7 separate regions of the Homo sapiens genome follow, and all the other regions are linked to region 3. Evidence: promoter capture Hi-C in 16 types of primary human blood cells and fetal thymus (Javierre and others, 2016). All regions are on one chromosome and are shown on one strand. Each heading gives the region's core, a stretch centred on a gene start or on the middle of the fragment in contact. The rest is flanking DNA. Distances are from core to core; before and after follow the strand shown.

Region 1 (3,164 bases), core at 477-2,976, 220 kb before region 3:
GTTTAATTGTCATATATTTGTGATTTTTCTCAAATTTCTTTTGTTACTGATTTCTAGGTTCATACCATTGTGGTCAGAAAAGATACTTGATAGAATTTCAATCTTCTTACATTCTTTAAGAGTTGTTTTGTGTCCTAAAATGTAATCTATTCTAGAGAATGTTTTATGTGTACTTGAGAAGAATGTGTATTTTTCTGCTGTTAAATGAAATGTCCTATATATGTCTGTTAGATCCATTTGTTCTAAAGTGAAAGGTTGAATTCCTATGTTTCCTTATTGATTTTCTATCTGGGTGATCTATCCATTGTTGAAAGTCAGATATTAAAATCCCCTAACAGTAGCTATTCTTATATCAGACAAAACAAACTTTAAAGCAACAGCAGTTAAAAAAGACAAAAGGGACATTATATAATGGTAAAAGACATGGTCAAACAGGAAAATATCACAATCCTAAACATATATACACCTAACACTGGAGCTTCCAAATTTATAAAACAATTACTAACAGATCTAAGAAATGAGATAGACGGTAACGCAATAATAGTGGGGGACTTCAATACTCCACTGACAGCATTAAACAGGACATCAAGACAGAAAGTCAACAAAGAAACAATGGATTTAAACCATACCTTGGAACAAATGGACTTAACAGATATATACAGAACATTTTATCCAACAGCTGCAGGATACATATTCTATTCAAGAGCACATGGAACTTTCTCCAAGATAGACCCTATGATAATCCATAAAACAAGCCTCAATAAATCTAAGAAAATTTAAATTATATCAAGCACTCTCTGAGACCACAGTGGAATAAAATTGGAAATCACCTACAAAAAAAACCTTCAAAACCATGCAAATACATGAAATTAAATAACCTGCTCCCAAATGAGCATTGGGTCAAAAACAAAATCAAGATGGAAATTGGAAAATTCTTTGAACTGAACGACGATAATGACACAACCTATCAAAACCTCTGGGATACAGCAAAGGTGGTGCTAAAAGGAAACTTCATAGCCCTAAATGCCTACATCAAAAAGACTGAAAAAGCAAAAGCTGACATTATAGGTCACACCTCAGGGAAGTAGAGAAACAAGAACAAACCAAACCCAAGCCAGAGAGAAGAAAGAAAATAACCAAAATCACAGCAGAACTAAATGAGATTGAAACAAAGAAAATACAAAAATAAATGAAACAAAAAGCTGGTTCTTTGAAAAAATAAATATAATTGATAGGCCATTAGCAAGATGAACCAAGAAAAGAAGAGAGAAAATCAAAATAACTTCACTAAAAAACAAGACAGGAGGTATTACAGCTGAAACCACTGAAATACAAAAGATCATCAAGGCTACTATGAAAACCTTTATGCACATAAACTAGAAAACCTAGAAGGGATGGATAAATTCCTGGAAAAATACAACCTTGCTAGTTTAAATCAGCAAGAATTAAATACCCTGAACAGACCAATATAGGCAGAGAGATTGAAATGGTAATTAAGAAATTACCAACAAAAAAATGTCCAGGACCAGACAGATTCATGGCAGAATTCTATCAGACATTCAAAGAAGTATTGGTACGAACCTTTGACACTATTCTACAAGAAAGCGAAAGAAGACACCCTCCCTAATTCATTCTATGAGCCAGCATTACCCTAATATCAAAACTAGGAAAGGACATAACAAAACAACAAAACAAAACAACAACAAACAAAACAAAATAAAACAAAACTACACACTGATATCCTTGATGAACATAGATATTAAAATCCTTAAAAAAATCCTAGCTAACCAAACCCAACAATATATTAAAAAGATAGTCCACCATGATCAAGTGGGTTTCAAACCAGGGATGCAGGGATGGTTTAACATACGCAAGTCAATAAATGTGATAAAACAGAATTAAAAACAAAATCACATGATCATCTCAATAGATGCAGAAAAAGCATTCAATAAAATCCAACATTTCTTTATGATTAAAGCTCTCTGCAAAATCGGCATACAAGGGACATACGTCAATGTAATAAAAACCATCTATGATAAACCCACAGTCAACTTAATACTTAATCAGGAAAAGTTGAAAGCATTCTCTCTGATAACGGGAATAAGATACGGATGCCCACTCTCACCATTCCTCTTCAACATAGTACTGGAAGTCCTAGCCAGAGCAAGCAGACAAGAGAAAGAAATAAAGGGAATCCAAATCAGTAAAGAGGAAGTCAAACTGTCACAGTTTGCTGATGATGTGACTGTTTACCTTGAAAAACCTAAAGACTCCTCCAGAAAGCTCCTAGAACTGATCAAAGAATTCAGCAAAGTTTCCTGATAAAAGATTAATGCACACAGATCAGTAGCTCTTCTATACCCCAACAGCGATCAAACAGAGAATCAAATCAAGAACTCAACTCCTTTTACAATAGCTGCAAAAAACAAAACAAAACAACAACAACAATAACTTAAGAATATACTTAACCAAGGAGTCAAAATACCTCTACAAGGAAAACTACAAAACCCTACTGAAAGAAGTCATAGATGACAGAAACAAATGGAAACACATCCCATGCTCATGGATGAGTAGAATGAATATTGTGAAAATGACCAAACTGCCAAAAGCAATCTACAAATTCAATGCAATTCCCATTAAAATACCACCATCATTCTTCACAGAATTAGAAAAAACATTTCTAAAATTCATATGGAACCAAAATAAGAGCCCACATAGCCAAATCAAGACTAAGCAAAAAGAACAAATCTGGAGACAACACACTACCTGATTTCAAACTATAATATAAGGCCATAGTCACCAAAACAGTGTGGTACTGGTATAAAAATAGGGACATAGACCAATGGAACAGAATAGAGAACCCAGAAATAAACCCAAATATTTACAGTTTCATCTTTGGTGAAGCAAACAGAAACATAAAGTCGGGAAAGGACAACCATTTCTACAAATGATGCTGAGATAATTGGCTAGCCACACGTAGGAGAATGAAACTGGATCCTCATCTCTCACTGTATAGAAAAAGCAACTCAAGATGGATTAAGAACTTAAATCTAAGTCCTGAAACTATACAAATTGTAGAAGATAACATTGGAAAAACCCTTCGAGGCATTGGCTGAGGCAAGGATTTCATGACCAAGAACCCCAAAACAAATACAATAAAAACA
Region 2 (3,241 bases), core at 500-2,999, 200 kb before region 3:
AACATGCATGTGCAAGGGTCTTTTTCAAATAATGACTTCTTTTCCTCTGGGTAGATACCCAGAAGTGGGATTGCTGGATCAAATGGTAGTTCTACCTTTAGTTCTTTAAGAAATCTCCACACTGTTTTCCATAGTGGTTGTATTAGTTTATATTACCACCAGTAGTGTAGAAGAGTTCCTTTTTCACCACATCCATGTCAACATTTACTGTTTTCTAATTGTTTGATTATGGCCATTCTTGCAGGACTAAGATGGTATCACATTGTGGTTTTGATTTGCATTTTCTTCATCATTAGTGATGTTGAGCATTTTTTCATATGTTTGTTGGCCAATTGTATATGTCCTTTTGAGAATTGTCTGTTCAAGTCCTTAGTCCACTTTTTAATGGGATTGTTTGAATTTTTTTTTCTTACTGATTTAAGTTTGTTGTATATTCCAGATATTAGTCCTTTGTCAGATGTATAGATTGTGAAGATTTCCTCCCACTCTGTAGGTTGTCTGTTTACTCTGCTGACTGTTCCTTTTGTCATGCAAAACTCTTTAGTTCAATTACGCCCCAGCTATTTATCTTTGATTTTATTACATTTGCTTTTGGATTCTTGGTCGTGAAATCCTTGCTTAAGCCAATGTCTACAAGGGTTTTTCCAATGTTATCTTCTAGAATTTTTATGGTTTCCGTTCTTAGGGTTAAGTTCTTAATCCATCTTGAGTTGGTTTTTGTATAAGATGAGAGATGAGGATCCAGTTTTATTCTCCTACATGTAGCTTGCCAATTATCTCAGCACCATTTGTTGAAAAGGGTGTCCTTTCCCCACTTTATGTTTTTTGTTTGCTTTGTCGAAGATCAGTTAGCTGTAAGTACTAGGCTTTATTTTGGGGTTCTCTATTCTGTTCCATTGGTCTATGTGCCTATTTTTATATCAGTACCATGCTGTTTGTGTGACTATGGCCCTATAGTATAGTTTGGATGCTACTATACTATAGTATAGTAGTGTGAGGCCTCCAGATTTGTTCTTTTTGCTTAGTCTTGCTTTGGCTATGCAGGCTCTTTTTTTTTGTTCCAGATGAATTTTAGAATAGTTTTTTCTAATTCTGTGCAGAATGATGGGGATATTTTGATGAGGATTGTATTGAATTTCTGGATTGCTTTTGGCAGCATGGTCATTTTCACAATATTGATTCTACCCATCCATGGGCACGGGATGTGTTTCCATTTGTTTCTGTCATCTATGATAACTTTCAGCAGTGTTATGAAGTTTTCCTTGTAGAGGTCTTTCGACTCCTTTGTTAGGTATATTCCTAAGTAGTTTTTTTTTTTTTTTTGCAGCTATTGTAAAAGGGGTTGAGTTCTTGATTTGATTCTCGGCTTGGTTGCTGTTGGTGTATAGAAAAGCTACTGATTTGTGTACATTAATTAAACTGCTGAATTCTTTGATCAGTTCTAGGAGCTTTCTGGAGGTGTCCTTAAGATTTTCAAGGTAAACGGTCATATCATCAGCAGTGACAGTTTGACTTCCTCTTTACTGATTTAGATGCCCTTTATTTCTTTCTCTTGTCTGATTGCTCTGGCTAGGACTTCCAGTACTATGTTGAAGAGGAGTGGTGAGAGTGGGCATCCTTGTCTTGTTCCCATTCTCAGAGGGAATGCTTTCAACTTTTCCTGATTAAGTATTACGTTGTCTGTGGGTTTGTCATAGATAGCTTTTATTACATCAATGTATGTCCCTTCTATGCTGATTTTGCTGATAGTTTTAATTACAAACCAATGCTGGATTTTGTCGAATGCTTTTTCTGCATCTACTGAGATAATTGTGTGATTTTCATTTTTAATTCTGTTTATGTGATGAATCACATTTATTGACTTGTTAAACAATTTCTACATCCCTTGTATGAAACTCACTTTATCATGGTGGATTATCTTTTTGATATGCTATTGAATTTGGTTAGCTAGTATTTTGTTAAGGATTTTAGCATCTGTGTTCATCAAGAATATCAGTCTGTAGTTTTCTTTTTTGGTGGTGTCCTTTTCTGGTTTTGGCATTAGGGTGATACTGGTTTCATAGAATGAATTAGGGAATGTTCCTTCTTTTTCTATCTTGTGGAATAGTGTCAAAAGGATTGGTACCAATTCTTTGAATGTCTGGTAGAATTCTGCTGTGAATCTGTCAGGTCCTGGACTTTTTTTGTTGGTAATTTTTTAATTACCATTTCAATCTTGCTGCTTTTTATTGGTCTGTTTAGGGTATCTAATTCTTCCTGACTTAAGCTAGGAAGGTTGTATTTTTCCAAGAATTTATCCATCTCTTCTAGGTCTTCTAGTTTATGTGCATAAAGGTGTTTATAGTAGCCTTGAATGATGTTCTATATTTCAGTGGCGTCAGTTGTAATAGCTCCTGTTTCATTTCTTAGTGAGGTTATTTGGGTTTCTTTCTTTTTTCTTGGTTAATCTTGCTAACGATCTATCAATTTTATTTATCTTTCAGAGAACTAGCTTTTTGTTTCATTTATCTTTTGTATTGTATTTTTTGTTTCAATTTCTTTTAGTTCTGCTTTGATCTTGGTTATTTCCTTTCTTCTGCTGGGTTTGGGTTTGGTTTGTTTTTGTTTCTCTAGTTCCTTGAAGTGTGACCTTAGATTGTCTGTTTGTGCTCTTTCAGACTTTCTGATATAGGCATTTAAGGCTCTGAACTTTCCTCTTAGCTTTTGCTTATCCTAGAGATTTTGATACATTGTGTCTTCATTGTCATTTAGTTCAAAGAATGTTTTAATTTCCATCTTGATTTCGTTTTTGACTTAGTGGTCATTCAGGAGCAGGTTATTTATTTTCCATGTATTTTCATGGTTTTGAAGGTTCCTTATGGAGCTGATTTCCAGTTCTATTCCATTGTGGTCTGAGAGAGTGCTTAATGTAATTTCAATTTTCTTAAATTTATTGAGGCTTGCTTTATGGCCTATTACATGGTCTGTCTTAGGGAAAGTTCCAGGCACTGTTGAATAGAATGTATATTCTGCTGTTGTTGGGTGAAATGTTCTGTACACATCTGTTAAGCCCATTTATTCCAAGGTGTAGTTTAAATCTATTGTTTCTTTGATGACTTTCTGTCTTGATGACCTGTCTAGTGCTGTTAGCAGAGTATTGAAGTTTCCTACTATTATTGTGTTGTTGTCTATTTCTTTTCTTAGATCTATTAGTAATTGTTTTATAAATTTGGGAGCTCCAGTATTAGGTGCATATATGTTT
Region 3 (3,164 bases), core at 665-3,164:
GGTATATTTCTAAAAGAATATTTCAAATATACATAAGAATGTATTAGAGTGCTGTTTGGCATGTATTAGGTTGGTGCAAAAGTAATTGCGGTTTTTGCTATTACTTTCAATGGCAAAAACCATTGTATAATAGTAACAATTCGTTACTTTCAATGGCAAAAACCGCAATTACTTTTGCATCAACCTAATACTAATTAATTTGGCTTTTTAGATCTATACATATTAACATATTTAAAGCTAGTCATCTTTTTACCTCTGTATTTTATTAATTATATTAATAAAATAGAGAGGTAAAATAATATTAATTCTTCCATTTCTCCATCGATGGATATAACATACCTGTATATATATATTTTTCTTATCTTCAGATTTATTAAAGTATTTGTGACCTAATGACTTTGAAATGCTGTTAAATGTTGAAAGCAGTGGTGCTTTGGTGGATGCTTGGTAGAGGGTGGGGGTTGGGGAAGAATTTTCTGTGTGGTTTAACCTAGAGTTAGAAATATATAGATAAATTTGAAATTATTTCTTCTATTTTTCAAGTTCTCTTTCTCAGCATTGCTACATCTTTATTGCTCTTACTTAATCTGTAATTAAATTAGGTAAATATGTCAATGTTTGCCACTACTATTATGTGCCTGTCAATTTCTACCCATACTCTTCCCCAAAATACCTTTCTGTAGTGCATACTTACAAAAATCATCAGAAAATTCAAAATCTTATGAAAATAGAAAATAAGAATTATTCATAATTTCAGCAAACAGTACTAACAGCCATTAACTTATTTGTGCATAGCCTTCCAGATTTTTTTACACATACGGTTTACATATACAACAAACTGTTCAAAAATTGCTTTTAAAATAAAAATATATTTATTGTATTTTTGATATTGGAACATATATTCTTATATAGTTTGTAACTGTACAGAAATATACAAAGGCATAATTGAAAATACTCTGTGATTTCCCTATAACTACAGTTTATTTCATGTATACCTTTAAAGACACTCTATATTTTCTTGTATGGTAATATGATAATGTGCTCAACTAATCTCATGTAAACAGATAGTTAATATATTTAAATAACATTTTAAAATGCTACAATGTATATACATTTTATACATAAATATTTTTGCATCCTCATCCGATTATTAGGCGAAGTGTCTAGGTTAGGCATTTCTAAATAAAGGTGGAAACATTCAAAATGCTGATATATATTTTCAAATTGCCCTATGGTTGTAACAATTCACACTTCAGCTAGCCTGAGAGGGCATTTTTTAGGGTCCCTGTCAACAAGAAGGTTTACCATTATTTTTTTCCCTGCCAATATGATAAGCCAAAAGTAGAATTTTATTGTTTTAACTTGATTTCTTTTTATTAGTAGTGAAATTAATCATCCTTTTTTAATGTCTATTGGCCATTTGCACTCCTTTTGTAAAATGCACGCTCCTGCTCTGTCTTCTTCCCTTCCCCTACTGGAGGTGTTCCTCTTTTCTTTTTGCTTTGTCAGAGTTCTTTATTATTCATTTTTCGTCTTATACGTGGGATCTGTTCGATTCAGGCTTTCACCCTTTTACTGCCTTACAGATTGCTAATATACATTCTCCATTGGTCTTTTAATGTCGTTTACAGAAGCTGACTCTCTACCGCCTCCTTCTCTCCGTCTCACCCTCTCTGCCTCGCCTGCTCTGTACTGTTCTGTTCTCTTCTCTCTCTCCCTTTGTTTCTCTCTCTCCCTTTTTTCTTTTCAGTGCAGAAGTTTTTAATTTTGACCGAGCCAAATCTATCAATCTAGGCCTGGCGCCGCGTCAGCAGAGGGGGCGGGGAGGCGAGCGCGGAACTGGGGGAGGGGAAGGGGCGGGGATCAGCAGGCGGAGCGGCTGCCAGAGTTGCTGGGAGTGCGCGCGGTCGGATCACAAGGCGGCGGCGGAGGAGGCCCAGAGACCGGAGCGCGGAGACCTCAGCCAGCGGCCTACGCCCAGGCCTTTCTCCACCGGAGGACCAGGGAACCGCAGTCTTCATCACAGAGGTACCGTGCTCCGCGCTCCCCGCCTGACCCGGCCCAGCCCGCTGCGGCGGTGCCTCCTTCCTTCCTCCTTCCCTCGCGCTCTCTCTTTCGCCCGCCCGCGCCTTCCCTGCCCGCCTGCGTCACCGCGGCCGCCATGGCTGAGAATGGCGAGAGCAGCGGCCCCCCGCGCCCCTCCCGCGGCCCTGCTGCGGCCCAAGGCTCGGCTGCTGCCCCGGCTGAGCCTAAAATCATCAAAGTCACGGTGAAGACTCCCAAAGAGAAAGAGGAGTTCGCGGTGCCCGAGAACAGCTCGGTTCAGCAGTTTAAGGAAGCGATTTCGAAACGCTTCAAATCCCAAACCGATCAGCTAGTGCTGATTTTTGCCGGAAAAATCTTAAAAGATCAAGATACCTTGATCCAGCATGGCATCCATGATGGGCTGACTGTTCACCTTGTCATCAAAAGCCAGAACCGACCTCAGGGCCAGTCCACGCAGCCTAGCAATGCCGCGGGAACTAACACTACCTCGGCGTCGACTCCCAGGAGTAACTCCACACCTATTTCCACAAATAGCAACCCGTTTGGGTTGGGGAGCCTGGGAGGACTTGCAGGCCTTAGCAGCCTGGGCTTGAGCTCGACCAACTTCTCTGAGCTCCAGAGCCAGATGCAGCAGCAGCTTATGGCCAGCCCTGAGATGATGATCCAAATAATGGAAAATCCCTTTGTTCAGAGCATGCTTTCGAATCCCGATCTGATGAGGCAGCTCATTATGGCTAATCCACAGATGCAGCAATTGATTCAGAGAAACCCAGAAATCAGTCACCTGCTCAACAACCCAGACATAATGAGGCAGACACTCGAAATTGCCAGGAATCCAGCCATGATGCAAGAGATGATGAGAAATCAAGACCTGGCTCTTAGCAATCTAGAAAGCATCCCAGGTGGCTATAATGCTTTACGGCGCATGTACACTGACATTCAAGAGCCGATGCTGAATGCCGCACAAGAGCAGTTTGGGGGTAATCCATTTGCCTCCGTGGGGAGTAGTTCCTCCTCTGGGGAAGGTACGCAGCCTTCCCGCACAGAAAATCGCGATCCACTACCCAATCCATGGGCACCACCGCCAGCTACCCAGAGTTCTGCAACTACCAGCACGA
Region 4 (3,528 bases), core at 234-2,733, 180 kb before region 3:
CTCCCAGACGGGTCGGCTGGCCGGGCGGAGGCTGACCCCCCACCTCCCTCCCGGACGGGGAGGCTGGCCGGGCAGGGGCTGACCCCCCACCTCCCTCCTGGGTGGGGTGGCTGGCCGGGTGGGGGCTGGCCCCCCACCTCCCTCCTGGATGGGGTGGCTGGCCAGGTGGGGGCTGGCCCCCCACCTCCCTCCCAGACGGGGCGGCTGGCCGGGCGGGGGCTGCCCCCCACCTCCCTCCCAGACGGGGTGGCTGCCAGACGGGGTGGTTGCCAGGCGGAGACACTCCTCACTTCTCAGATGGGGCAGCTGCCGGGCAGAGGGGCTCCTCACTTCTCAGATGGGGCAGCTGCCGGGAGGAGGGGCTCCTCACTTCTCAGATGGGGCGGCTGGGCAGAGACGCTCCTCATCTCCCAGACGGGGTGGCGGTCGGGCAGAGACACTCCTCAGTTCCCACACAGGGTCGCCGCCTGTCAGAGGCACTCCTCACATCCCAGACGGGGCAGCGGTGCAGAGGCACTCCCCACATCTCAGACGATCGGCAGCTGGGCAGAGACGCTCCTCACTTCCTAGATTGGAAGGCGGCCGGGAAGAGGCGCTCCTCACTTCCCAGACTGGGCAGCCGGGCAGAGGGGCTCCTCACATCCCAGACGATGGGCGGCCGGGCAGAGATGCTTCTCACTTCCCAGACAGGGTGGCGGCCAGGCAGAGACTGAAATCTCGGCACTTTGGGAGGCCAAGGCAGGTGGCTGGGAGGTGGAGATTGTAGCGAGCCGAGTTCACGCCACTGCACTCCAGCCTGGACAACATTGAGCACTGAGTGAACGAGACTCCGTCTGCAATCCCGGCACCTCGGGAGGCCGAGGCTGGAGGATCACTCACGGTTAGGAGCTGGAGACCAGCCCGGCCAACACAGCAAAACCCCATCTCCACCAAAAAAACACGAAAACCAGTCAGGCGTGGCGGCGCGCGCCTGCAATCACAGGCACTTGGCAGGCTGAGGCAGGAGAATCAGGCAGGGAGGTTGCAGTGAGCAGAGATGGCGGCAGTACTGTCCAGCTTCGGCTCAGCATCAGAGGGATACTGTGGAAAGAGAGGGAGAGGGAGACCGTGGGGAGAGGAGGGAGAGGGAGAGGGAGAGGGAGAGCTAAATAAGCTTTTAATTAGACAAAAAATATTCATCTTTTAACAAGAACACACATTATGTTAGAATGTTTTTCTACAATATATTTTTTTAATTGTAAATTACCCAGATATTTAGTGAAATACCTATTATTTAATTTAACTTTAGATTCTAGATTATAATGCTTATCCCATTAGATATAAATCTAATGGGACAAGTACTTATCCCATTAGATTTACCTAATTATTTTATTTCAATAGTTTACCTAAATTATTTATAAAAACTGTGATAACCATTATTTAAATTTCTTTTCCTGTCAATCATTTTATAGCCTATGAATTTCAGGTGTCTACCTAAGTAAGAGCCTTAACATTAAATATATTATTATTTTGCCAAATAATTCAAGATTTAGCTATTTTCATTAAATTAATATTAATCTCTTATTTATCAAACATTACACAAGCAAAGAACATTCTGTTTTGGGCTGGGCTTATAGTTTAATAACACTTATGCCAAATTTGACACCTTATAGTATTTGGCAGGGATAAGTATAAAATCTCTTGATCAATAAATGTAAACAAAAATGTATGCTATTAATAAAAATTCTTAAGACATTTTTAATATTACTTTACCAATAATTTTAAAGCTAGATTATTGGAGATTTTACTTAAGTAATGTGAACTTGAAAAGCATTTAAGCTTATTATTTAATTTATGAGTACTCTCTGTTTAAGCCAAATTTGGTATCTTGTTGCCAAAAGCACGTAAGAAAATGCATGTATATGCACATAAACACACAAATACACACTCATACAAAGATTCTATAGCTTTACTTTAGGATTATGGCCATGAGATTTTAATAAAAACTCATTGGTTTGCAAAAACAATAACAAAAAGAAATGGATGCAAACAGTGGATTTTATCTCAGTAGAAAAGGAACAACAGACTTAGAGTAGACAGAAAAAAAATGCAGAAAGATAGAGAACTTATGAACTTAATAGTGGGAGGTCAACCTTTGGGCTCTGAATTTTCCTTGATGTAATTGTGCACTAAAAGACCATAATATGTCCATTTTACACAAACACTTGCAAGTAGAAGTGCCATAAAACCAACATAGTATCTGAAAGATCATTCTCCTTGTTCTTTTTTTTTGTTGTTAGAAGATTATTTGTGGCCTAGAGTTTAGTGGAGTGGGTTGACGTGTGCTGTCTGTGGGTGGGACTCCACACTGTTTCACCATTGAGTCATTTCTACCCTCTTATGTGTCTCAGTTTCTCTCTCCAAAGATCTAGCACCTCCAAGAGGGCTCAAGGCACAGAATGACCAGCTCCTATACGTGCTTCCTGGAAGAGCCTTTTTAAACGAATTTTGTTGGGGGTTTCCTGTAGGGTCACTGCAAGTCATGGGGAGTCAACACCCAGACACACCCACTTGGCCTTCATTCACCCAGAGATGCCTTTAGGCTGGGAGGAGCAAAATGTCTTTTCTCTTTGGAGAAAACTCAGTCTTTTCTTTATCCACAAAAATGACAGTTCGGTTCCTCACACAAATGCTCAGACAAGTGAATCAATATTAATTTCAGGAGAGAAGGCAATGGAGAAGACTCCTTAGAATGCACCGTTATATTAAAATTGGGATCCTAAACAACAACTTCCTAGGAGGAAAAGAAAAGGAAAAAAACCAGCTAAGACTACTTCCTGTAAATTGTCCTCAGCCACCCCTAACTTTGTAGCAATTTTCTGCCATTACACATGCCAAGGACAAATCCTCTCACAGTACAAGGTAATATCTGGTACCCCCAAAAGCCAAAGATGTCAGGTAACACAATACAGGAAAGCAGCCGTTTAGCTCTAAGAAGAATCTGCCCATGACTCTTGAAACTCCACAGAGAAAACAAAGCACCCCAAAAAGAGGTGACTGACACCTTTGTTCCTAGTTCTTTAAGAGGTTCAATTCAGTAGAAGCCTTCTCTAGAATTTTCTTGGTACCAAAGATGGCAAAAGAGAAAGGAGAAATAAGGTGGAACCAAAGAAAACAAACAAAAATCTTTAAGACAGGAAGCAAACACAGAAAGTACATGATTTTGTTTTGTGTTGTTTTGTTTCTTTTGCAGCTGTGAGAAATTTTAGCCAAATTCAGAGGCTTGTACCGCATAATTTGGAATCCTCATTCAGATTTGACCAAGTCAGGTAGAGTTGGTGAAATCTGATGGAAGAAAGACCAGAATAAACAATGACAAAATAATGCAAAAATATGATTACTGAGTGTTCCAATAATAAGGAGAAATTAAGACAAGCTGGTTGTTAATCGTAACTTTAGCCAAGACAAAACCCTAATTCAGCTACTTACCTAGGAATGGGTCTAGACTGAAGACTGTTCTCTACCATTTTCAAAGCAGGAAAAAACTCA
Region 5 (3,563 bases), core at 505-3,004, 180 kb after region 3:
GTCTCACAGTATGAAATGTGTCTGATTGTTTTCCCATGATTAGTTTAAGCGTTTTTAGCAAGAAGACTACATGGGCGATGTTCTGTCCTTCTTAGGCACAAAATTCTAGTTTATCCCAAGAGCATAGATACCTTTGGGGATTTTACAGATAGCTAGGTGGGTATTTTTTACTTCCCCCTTAAGAAAGTTACTTTTCTGGACACGGGTCAAATTATGGTTTATAATTTGCACCATATTCCATGTCTAGGTTACCTGTTTACAGAAATGCTCAGCATGAAGAGGAGTTTCTATATCTGTTCTGCCATCACATTTTCCTACTTCAGAGCATTTACTTAGTCCGGTTGGTTGTCTGTCTGTGTATTCACAAACTTTCACAATCAACTCAATAGGGAATAAAGTTTTTTTTTTCAGCAGCTTCATGTGCAGTCTCCTTAAGTACTTTTTCCTATGACTTGGTCACTTTTCTCCCTCTCATTGTATAAAGACTTTCTCATACTACTCTATATTGATCATTTTTAAGAGGCAAATATGATATGATCGAGTTCCTCTCCTGTTATTCTTACCTCCTGACATGTTATCATAGCATCTGGGTCTTCTGTCTCTGGGAAGATAAGCCAGATTTTATTGCATGGATTCTGTATTAGTTTTATATTTCTACCATAACAAAATGATCACAAATTTAGAAATTTAAAAGAACATATTTATTATAGTTCTGGAGGCCAGAAGCCTGCTATGGGTCTCATCAGACCTGATGAGAAGTCAAGCTGTTGGCTGGCTGCATTCCTTTCTAGAGGCTCTGGGGGGATATGTCCTGCTCATTTGGTTATTGGCAGAATTCCGTTCCTTGCCACTGTAGATCTGAGATCTGTAGATCTCAGTTCCTTGCCACTGTAGATCTGTAGATCTGAGATCCCTTTCTTGCTGGCTATGAGCTAAGAGCTGTTCCTAGCTTCTAGAGGCCACCCAAATTCCTTAGATTGTCATCTCTTTTCTCCATCTTCAAAGCCAACCATGGCAAATTGAGTCCCTCTCATACTTAGAATTTCTCCATTTTCTTTTGTCATTACATCTTTCACTGACTCAGATGATATGCTTTTAAAGATATATGCAATTAGAGTATGCCCACCCAAATAATTCAGAATATTCTCCCCCATCTCAAGATCCTTAACTTAATCACATCAGTAAAGTTCCTTTTGCCTTGTAAAATAACATAGTCATGGATTCTTGTAATTGTGGTGTGGACATCTTTGGGTGGCCATCATTTTGCCTACCACAGATTTTATTATAGCAGCAAGCCATAACCTGACACCGAGTGTGTGATTCATCCATTCTTTTATTCAACCAACACAAATATTAAAGAATGCCTATTAAATTGAGCATGTATTAAATTCCAGGCATTGTTTTATGTGCCAGGGTTACAAAAATATAACATCTAACTCACCAAGGAGTTCATAAACTGGTTTGGTAAGTTCTGTAGATAGAGATTGGCACAGAGTTCTATAAGAGAATACAAGAAGGCACATGAGCAAGACTAGAAGAGCCAGGAATGGCCTCCTGTATTGATCAATATCTAAGCTCAGTCTTTGAAATGAAATGAGGTACTAAGTAAGGATGGATGATTGTAGATGGGTAAAGAACTTCAAGCAGTGAGAAAATAATGACCAAAGTTACAGAACTCGAGGTAGGCTGGTTTTTGGAGGAGGTGAGATGTATGGTAGGTAGTTTTCCTGGAGTGGAGAGATGGAGCTAGATCAGCAAGCTGAAGCATAAACATGAAGACTTTGTGCACTACAAAGGCTCAAGATAGATCTGTAGGAAATGGGATGTGACTGACAATCTTGAAAGAGAGTGCTGTGTTCACATTTATATTTTATATAGGTCATACTAGTGGCCATGTGGAGGATAGTATAGTAGAGCAAGATTGGGGTAAGAAGATCATTTAAGATGCTTGTATGAAAATCCCGACAAAAAGTGATGAAGGCTTGAACTCAGCCAATGGTAGTTGGGATGGAGCACAGATCAGTGAATTTGAGAAAGTTTTATGAAGTATTATTGATTAGATGGTGTATCAATCAGGGTTCAACCAGAGAAATAGAACCAGTAGGAGATATATATTAAGAAATGTATTATAAAGAATTGGCTTGTGGGGGCTGTGTAGGCAAGCCTGAAATCTGTGGAGTGGGCTTTCAGGAAGGACAGACTGGAACTCCTGGACATGGGCTGAAGCTGATGTCCTCAGGTTAAATTTATTCAGGGAGACCTTAGCTCTGGTCTTAAGGTCCATCAGCTGATTGAATCAGGTCTACCCAAATTATTTAGGATAATCTCCTTTACTTAAAGTTAACTGATTATAGACAGTAATCACATCTACAAAATAGCTTCACAGCAAAACCTAGTTAAATTGAATAACTGAGGACTCTAGCCTAGCCAAATTAACACATCAAAAGACAATCACAGATGGGATGTCAAGGGAAACAGAATAATAGAGGGTAGTTCTCAAGTATGTGGCTTGAGTATTACATGAAATCACTAACTGAGTTATAGAATACAAGAAAAAGAGCAGGTTTTCAACATTTTCAGTAAGATACCTAGATGGAGGTTCCTGGCAAGCAGGTAAAGATCTGAGATTGCAAGAGAAGTGTTGTCCATATAAATATATTTAGATAACCATCAGCATAAAGGTGATAGATAAAACCAGGAGAGTAAATTAAATAATCTAGAAGAAGGTATATATAGAGAAAAGTTATGGATTGAGAAGGAAATTCTGGGGACCACTAACATTTAAGGATTATCTAGAGAAAGATGAACAGATAAAGGAGTAATAGGATGAGGGGGAAACCTGAAAAAGTCTGATGCCGATTAAGAAAAATGTAGTGAACAGCAACATAATATACATTAGAGGGTTCAGTACTGAAAAATATTTATTAATTTGTAAATTAAGTTTATTGGTGAATTTAGCATTAACGGTTTCCGTGTTGTGAGAGCAGAGGCCAGATTACAGTGGGTTGAAGAGTTACTAGGAAGTGCCAAGTTGAGGGTAGCTGGCATACGAGATGGGATGAGAATGGAGGATAAAAATTGGACAATATTTTATAATTAAATGATAACTGTAAGAAGATTAAGAGCCAAGGGAGTATTAAAAAATAATGGTAGGAACTTGCAGTTTTATTGACTTAAAGTAACAAGAAAAGGGGTAGAGACTGAAGATATAGGACATAAGAGAATTCAAAGTTACTGAGAAATAAAAGAAATAGGCCTGGTTGTTAGAGAGGGTGCAGTGACAAGAGAAGGACTTGTTTTATTCTTTGGATAAGACTAGGGTATTGGTACTCAATGGAGGTAGTATAATCCTGAGAGGGTGATTGGAAAGTTTGTGAAAGGCATTTAAGATAATCATTATTGAAGTGCTTCCTGACATATTGTGGGCAGGGTCAGTATTGCTAAATAACCTGCAATATGCAAGACAGCCTGCACAATGAAATTTTCTATATCCCATACAACTTTTAAATATATCATCAGATTAAACACTTATTTTTGTTAATCTAGACCTTGAATTGAACTCC
Region 6 (3,473 bases), core at 90-2,589, 160 kb before region 3:
TACTCTCATTGTTGTTCTAATAATTGCCAATTCTCCTGAGTCCAAGCTAGAATAGTCATCTCTTGATCATGGGATACAGAAAGACCAGAAAAGCCCTGCCTTTATTCCTGGGAAAAGCCCCTATGAACTTCAATTTTATTATTGTTAGGGACCAGAAGTTAATCTCTGCTGAACCACCATGTGTCTACACCAGTGAGGTTAATTATGTAATACAGCTCTCTTTTGCCCACCTCTCAGGGGTCAATGTCAATTAGTTCCATTGTTTGAAGTTGTCCTGCCATCATGTCTTGAGAAAAAGGGAGGTGTAGGAGCAGTGGAAAGCTCTTTTATTTTTGAATGTGTGAGATCAGCTTCATGATTGCCAACTAAGCCTTGCTGGGGCTGATCTTACCTAGGCTGCTTATCTGCTGGTAACAATAACTTCTATAGGAATTTGCTATTTTTTAAATTTAAACATTTGTTAATATCTTTAAAGAGTTGTAATGCTATTTAGAAGGGACATGTCCCCTTGCAGGTCTTGGACACACTGAATTTAAATCCTGATGGACTGAATCATTTTATGAGTTATAGTTTTACCTTTCTGAATAGAAAATGCCAAGTAATAATCCTAATGACTGGTAGTAAAAACGTCATTATTTTTCACTAAGGAAGAAAACTTTTATTTAGATATTGGTCTTCATTCTGAGAGAACTTCCCACGCTATTGCTGACCATTTCTTCCCTCTGAAATGCTTAAACCCCACAGCTGAAGCTAGCAAGGAAACCTAAGCTTACAGTATGTGTGCACGGGTAGAACCAGTATTGGGGAATGAATGAGTGCCCACATGCATGTACTGAGTCAATGAATCCTGATTATCAGCTCAGCTCTTTTGTTCCCACTCCAATGTTTGCAGCATTAAATGTGTACTTATGTGTGTGTTTCCAATTGTTTACACAAAAAAGCGGAGACATTATGCACAAGCCTGTATTGCCTTAGGAATGTATCTGTGCATTATCTTGTTGTCCTGTAGTCCCTGAACACATGAAGCACACATCTGTATGAATTTCTATGGACACTCAAAAGCCTCTTTAGTTGTTTCTAATTGGCCAATGAAATGACAACTAATTGAGATCAGGAATATTAGCATATTCCTGATTTCTGCCTAGCATTGAGGCTATTAACAGGCATAATTTGAGGGGTTCCCACCAAATTCCAGCAAGCTCAGTGCTGCATGTTGAGTTTAGCTCAAATTAGTTCTTTAAATTGTTTGAACAATTTGTAGAGTGAGTGTTACAATCCTTGATTTAAATTCCTGTTTAAAGACCTTTATCATTATAAATGACCAGAAATTATTACCTTAGATGAGAATTGCAATAGTCAATATGTGAAACAGATTTACCATGGCTGAAATACAGCAATACCTATTAAGTAGAAAATATTTCAAATGTTTTACTCCCAGATCTGCTTTTGTCAAGTAATGTAACCCTGGGGAAGTCATTCCTGTTCACTGGGTCTGCCTCCTTATCTGTAAAATAATGTAGCAATTTTCTATTGCTGCCATAGAAAATTACCGCAAATTTATTGGCTTAAAGTAACAATTTTGGAGGTCAGAAGTCCAGCACAGGTCTCATTAGGTTAATATCAAGTTGTTTGCAAGAGTGTTTTCTTTTCTGGAAGCTCTGGAAGAGAATCTGTTACTTTGCTCATCTAGGATTTTAAAGAATCTAATTCATGTGGTTGTATAACTGAAGTTTCTGTTTCCTTGCTGGCTGTCAGCCGAGGGCTTTTCCCAATTACTAGATGTCACCTATATTCCTTGGATTGTGCCCCTCTTCTCAATCTTCAAAACTAACAAATCCAAGTTAAGTCTCTTTCATGCTTCCAATCTTCCTTACATCTTCTTCAGTACCATCTCTCTGACTTCAGCTAAGAAAGCTTCTCTTGGTATATATGATTAGATTGAACTCACAGGGATAATCCAGGACAATCTTTCCATTTCAAAACACATAACTTTAACATGCCTGCAAAGTCTCTTTTGCCATGTAAGGTAGCATGTTTATAGGTTCCAGGGATTAGGGTGTGGACATCTTCAGGTGTCATGGGAGGGAGAGTCATTATTTTGCCTACCACAGATGAGAAAACTAGATTATTTAGATCAGCATTTTTGAAATAAATTCGGTATAACACAAGTTTAGTGGACTGTGATAGGGTTAAGGGCTGGAAAGTAGTAGACACATGCATCAAAACAAACAAAGCTAAGTATGACTGGACACTAGGTTGGTATTAAACAAAGAATGTTACATAGATAACAAAGTAAAGTACAAGCAGGTGATGTGTAGTAGTTGAAAAGATTATTCTAAAACACTAGATGTCCATTTGTTCCATAAGAGTTTAGAGGTAGTTTGGCATATAGGGATGTGGAGGAGTGGTGTGGATAGCCACAATAGTTCTTTTTTGTTGTTGTTCTTATAATTTAAGTTCTGGGATACATGTGGAGAAACTGCAGGTTTGTTACATAGGTGTACACACGGCATGGTGGTTTCCTGCACCCATCAACCTGTCATCTACATTAGGTATTTCTCCTAATGCTGTCCCTCCTCTAGCTTCCACCCCCCCAAAGGCCCTGGTGTGTGATATTCCCCTCCTTGTATCCCCATTTTCTCATTGTTCAACTCCCGCTTATAAGTGACAACATGTGGTGTTTCGTTTTCTGCTCTTGTGTTAGTTTGCTGAGAATGATGGTTTCCAGCTTCATCCATGTCCCAACAAAGGACATGAACTCATCCTTTTTTATGGCTACATAGTATTCCATGGTGTATATGTGCCACAGTTTCTTTATCCAGTCTATCATTGATGGGCATTTGGGTTGGTTCCAAGTCTTTGCTATTGTGAATAGTGCTGTAATAAACATATATGTGCATGTGTCTTTATAGTAGAATTATTTATAATCCTTTGGGTATACACCCAGTAATGGGTCAAATGGTATTTCTGGTCCAAGATCCTTGATGAATCGCCACACTTTCTTCCACAATGGTTGAGCTAATTTACACTCCCACCAACAGTGTGAAAGCATTCCTATTTCTCTACATCCTCTCCAGCATCTGTTGTTTCCTGACTTTTTGAAGATCACCATTCTAACGGGCATGTGATGGTATTTCATTGTGGATTTGATTTGCATTTCTCTAATGACCAGTGATGATGAGCTTTTTTTCATATGTTTGTTAGCTGCATAAATGTCTTCTTTTGAGAAGTGTCTGTTAATATATTTCACCCACTTTTTGATGGGATTTTTTTTTCTTGTAAATTTGTTTAAATTCCTTGTAGATTCTGGATATTAGCCCTTTGTCAGATGGACAGATTGCAAAAATTTTCTCCCATTCTCTAGGTTACCTGTTCACTCTGATGATAGTTTCTCTTGTTGTGCTGAAGTCCTTTAAATTAGATCCCATTTGTCAATTTTGGCTTTTGTTGCCTTTGCTTTTGGTGTTTGAGTC
Region 7 (3,162 bases), core at 282-2,781, 200 kb after region 3:
GGGGGATGTCCCTCTGCGTGCTAGGCAAGGAGAAAGCTTCACTTTTGTTCTGAAAGGAGCAGAGATGAAGGTCACATGTTCAGTTCCTCTGGTCCTCTAAAAAACCACCCATGTGTTACTTTTAAGTGAAATGTCATTCTGAATGCACTTCCTACCAGTACCTCACGATTCATCCTTCTACCTTGTTCTCCTTGAAGACGATCTAATAATGTAATCTTGGCCAGTAGGAGCCTCAGCAAGTTTTCCCCCATTTCCTCTCCTTCCAGTCAAGCCATGTGAACACAACTATCCGGATTTCAGTGTATACAGGCAGGCTGTCTCTGCCATGTGCCAGTTTACCCACTCTCACACAGGAAGGCACCCACAAACCATAGACACAGATACACATACACACACTCACTAGGGACCTCAGAAATGAAATCACAAACACACCCGCACACAGAGACACATGCAGACACACACAAACACACACATAGACACACAAACAAGAAACCTCACAGGGGCACAGGGGTGCAGGCCCAAGCATTCTCCCACACAGACACATACACACCACCACAGGCACGAGACTGCCTACAATTTCTCCCACACAGGTTCTAAATGTGCAAAGGGAACAGGAGACAGGGGAGAATTCCTGACTCCAGGCCTGGGCCATCATGCCATTGATTGATGGGCAACTCTCGCCTTCTCCTGAGAATCAATGTGGGAAGTCTGTTAACAGATAGGATCCAGCAGCTGGTGTAAAACTGGAGCATCCTGGGTCAAGCTGCTTAAAAAGGAACCTCACTTTGTGTTAGAGACAGAGAGAGTTCCCTTGGGAGCCTTGGCCCTGTGTGATGCCATAAGAATCTGTGGTGTGTGGTGGCATTCCCCAGCACCCCTGAGCCACCCTCCTCCCACCCCCATCTGTGTGAAACCCAGGACAGCCTGAGCAGAGTCAGACTTGAGCAAGTTGCTGAGTGTCCTCTCTGAGAGATACTCCTGCTTCAGGCCCTGTGGTTTCCAGTTGAGCAGTCCACCTATTTTGATGACCTCCATGTGTCAGCCCAAGGCGGTAAACTCTACCTGGAGCTCCAGGCTTTCGTAGGACCCCCAGTCCTGCAGCAGAACCTTGTGTAAGCCAGCTGGGTGACCAGCACCTTGTCCTGGGGCAGTAGCCCTATGATCCTAGTCCTCCTGTGGTGTCCCAGTAATGATCATGTTTTTTGTTGTTTACTTTCTGCACGGGCAAGAGCCATGAAACCTGCAGAGAGCCAAAGGAAGGGCAAAGGCTGGCTCCCTAAACAGGATTCCCACAGGATCTCCAGCCTACTGGTCCTGGTCCTTGGTCACACGGTCCCATGAGTTTGGTGATCAATCTGGGACCAGGTGACTGATTCCTTTCACTCCTCTGTCTTTTTTTTTGTTTCTCTTTCCTCTTTACCTTTTTTCACATGGGAAAAGGCGGAGGCCCTGGAGTTGAAGTGGCAGGGTTACAGTTGTAGTTGGCGTTTGTGGAGCCATACTGCCATCAAGCGGAAACTGTATCTAGAAACCGGAGGCAGCTGGGCACAAGTGCTGGGGAAACCCCACGAGCGCAAAAGAGATGGCGGCATGGAGCCCCCAGGCTGAAGCAGGACAAGAGAGGAACTCCAAGCTGGCCCTTGGCCTGTGCTCATTCCCAGGATGCCTCCCTGGTTCCACAGCTCTCTCCGAAAAAAAGGGCAGGTAGGGGCGACCCACCATGGGTTCCCCTGGTCATCTCCAGGTACTGCTGGTCCTGGGTTGCCACGTCTCCAGTATCCCGAAGCTCCTTTGTTCCCCGGGAGGATCGGGGCCCCCTTGCCAACACGTGGCTCCAGCCAAGGGAACCCCGGAACTCCCCACAAAAGACACCAGAGTAAACGGCCCCCGTCTCGGCCAGTGGCTTCGTTTATGTCCATCTCAACATGGCTGCCGGGCCAGCTCCGCCCTCTGGGCTGACTGGTCTTGGGGCTGCCTGGCTGTTCTGTCCTGGGGCCTCTAGAGTAGTTGCTTCTCCAAAGCGTCCCAATGCCAGGTACACTTCCTTCAAGGGCTCAGAACCCCGGTGGGGGAAACCCAGGCTTAGACATAGTCTAAGCACATCCTCGCTGATCTCTGTTCCTGGCAGAAGGCAGGTGTCCGTGCATCCTGTTGTGTTCAGAAACAACTTCCACTAGATGGCAATGTGGCTCCACAAACAGCAGTCTTGTCTTTCCCTTCCCCCATTTTCTTTCCCTCTTTCTGTTTTTGGTGCCAAAAACCAAAACAAACACCAAAAAAAAAAAAAAAAAAAAGAAACTGGCCTAGGAGCACCCATCTCACCTACAGCAGGGCTTCCCATCTATGTGGTCACTTTGGGGGAACCGGCAACAGTAGGATGGGGTAGGGGTGGGGGCCACAGGGAGCAGGGCAGCTTCCTGGCCCAACAGGCCTCTGTGCCCACGCGGTGCAGACCCGGGCTTGAGGGGCTGATGCTTTCTCCTGGCTGGTGGCTCTTCCTCTGTGAGGCCACAAGAGGCCACTCATAGTGCTGCCAGCTGTCCATCTGAGGCACTTTGCATTGCAGTTCGCTGTCAATCTCATTGCTCACTGATTCTTTGTGTACTTTTGGAGTTTTTCTCCCTTCACTTTTTTCTTCTTCATTCTCTTTACTTTTTCTCCACTTCTGCTCCAGGAGCAGACTGGAAGGCAGGGTCAGCTGGGCGCGGGGACACCGTTAGGGAAAACAGGCTTACTTTTCCTAAGGAAATTAGTAGGACTCTAGCTGACCCCTGCGAGGAGAAATTGGCGTTTCCCTCTCCTTTCTGCCCTGTCTCCATATTGCAGTGGGTGGCTGATTATCTCTTTTCCCTGGTGTCCAATTCCTCCCCGTTTTTCATCTTATTCTTTTTTGGGCGGTCCTTCCCTGCCTTGGCCTTGTAGCCTTGGGGCTTGGTAGCCCCTTGCAGTCAGCTGATGACATCTTCAGGGCAAGGTTCAGCCAGCACCTGTGTTCTCTGTAGCTTCTGCAGGCCTACTTGTGGATCAAAGCTTTTGATCTTACTCAGGAAATACCCCATCAACAAGACGCTTCCTGGTTGTGTGTCCTTTAAGCCGGATGTCAGAAGTGGCTCCGTGCCCCTCGTTGTATGTCACCACGCGTTGAGGCCCTCCTAAACTAGA

The links. The method cuts DNA at HindIII sites, captures the fragments that hold promoters and counts their contacts. A CHiCAGO score of 5 or more calls a contact.
Region 1: a contact is called between a fragment that was not itself captured here and the fragment with the promoter of UBQLN2 in region 3, in 4 of 17 cell types (non-activated CD4 T cells, naive CD4 T cells, total CD4 T cells and 1 more). The highest score is 6.5, in non-activated CD4 T cells.
Region 2: a fragment that was not itself captured here is called in contact with the fragment with the promoter of UBQLN2 in region 3 in 3 of 17 cell types (naive CD8 T cells, total CD4 T cells and naive CD4 T cells); the score reaches 6.7 in naive CD8 T cells.
Region 4: a fragment that was not itself captured here is called in contact with the fragment with the promoter of UBQLN2 in region 3 in 5 of 17 cell types (naive CD4 T cells, non-activated CD4 T cells, total CD4 T cells and 2 more); the score reaches 9.0 in naive CD4 T cells.
Region 5: a fragment that was not itself captured here is called in contact with the fragment with the promoter of UBQLN2 in region 3 in 1 of 17 cell types (non-activated CD4 T cells); the score reaches 5.3 in non-activated CD4 T cells.
Region 6: a fragment that was not itself captured here is called in contact with the fragment with the promoter of UBQLN2 in region 3 in 4 of 17 cell types (activated CD4 T cells, naive CD8 T cells, naive CD4 T cells and 1 more); the score reaches 7.0 in activated CD4 T cells.
Region 7: a fragment that was not itself captured here is called in contact with the fragment with the promoter of UBQLN2 in region 3 in 1 of 17 cell types (non-activated CD4 T cells); the score reaches 5.4 in non-activated CD4 T cells.

What each region holds. Positions count from the first base shown.
Region 1 is chrX:56,344,252-56,347,415 of GRCh38, forward strand. No RefSeq gene overlaps it. Among named protein-coding and RNA genes, the nearest start is that of KLF8, 110 kb to the left of the region's middle. The HindIII fragment of the contact is 8,181 bases long and covers 1-3,164 here.
Region 2 is chrX:56,362,890-56,366,130 of GRCh38, forward strand. No RefSeq gene overlaps it. Among named protein-coding and RNA genes, the nearest start is that of KLF8, 130 kb to the left of the region's middle. The HindIII fragment of the contact is 9,077 bases long and covers 1-3,241 here.
Region 3 is chrX:56,561,713-56,564,876 of GRCh38, forward strand. It overlaps UBQLN2 (ubiquilin 2), which reads left to right and starts at 1,915. Exons shown (of 1, transcript NM_013444.4): 1 at 1,915-3,164. The coding sequence starts at 2,162. RefSeq lists enhancers at 1,618-2,245, 2,642-2,841, 2,852-2,911. The HindIII fragment of the contact is 11,191 bases long and covers 1-3,164 here.
Region 4 is chrX:56,380,071-56,383,598 of GRCh38, forward strand. No RefSeq gene overlaps it. Among named protein-coding and RNA genes, the nearest start is that of KLF8, 150 kb to the left of the region's middle. The HindIII fragment of the contact is 665 bases long and covers 1,152-1,816 here.
Region 5 is chrX:56,745,801-56,749,363 of GRCh38, forward strand. All of the region lies in intron 2 of NBDY (negative regulator of P-body association), which reads left to right. Among named protein-coding and RNA genes, the nearest start is that of NBDY, 18 kb to the left of the region's middle. The HindIII fragment of the contact is 5,918 bases long and covers 1-3,563 here.
Region 6 is chrX:56,402,525-56,405,997 of GRCh38, forward strand. No RefSeq gene overlaps it. Among named protein-coding and RNA genes, the nearest start is that of UBQLN2, 160 kb to the right of the region's middle. The HindIII fragment of the contact is 1,146 bases long and covers 767-1,912 here.
Region 7 is chrX:56,762,429-56,765,590 of GRCh38, forward strand. All of the region lies in intron 2 of NBDY (negative regulator of P-body association), which reads left to right. Among named protein-coding and RNA genes, the nearest start is that of NBDY, 35 kb to the left of the region's middle. RefSeq lists enhancers at 1,179-1,228, 1,249-1,368, 1,332-1,833, 1,829-2,188. The HindIII fragment of the contact is 2,994 bases long and covers 35-3,028 here.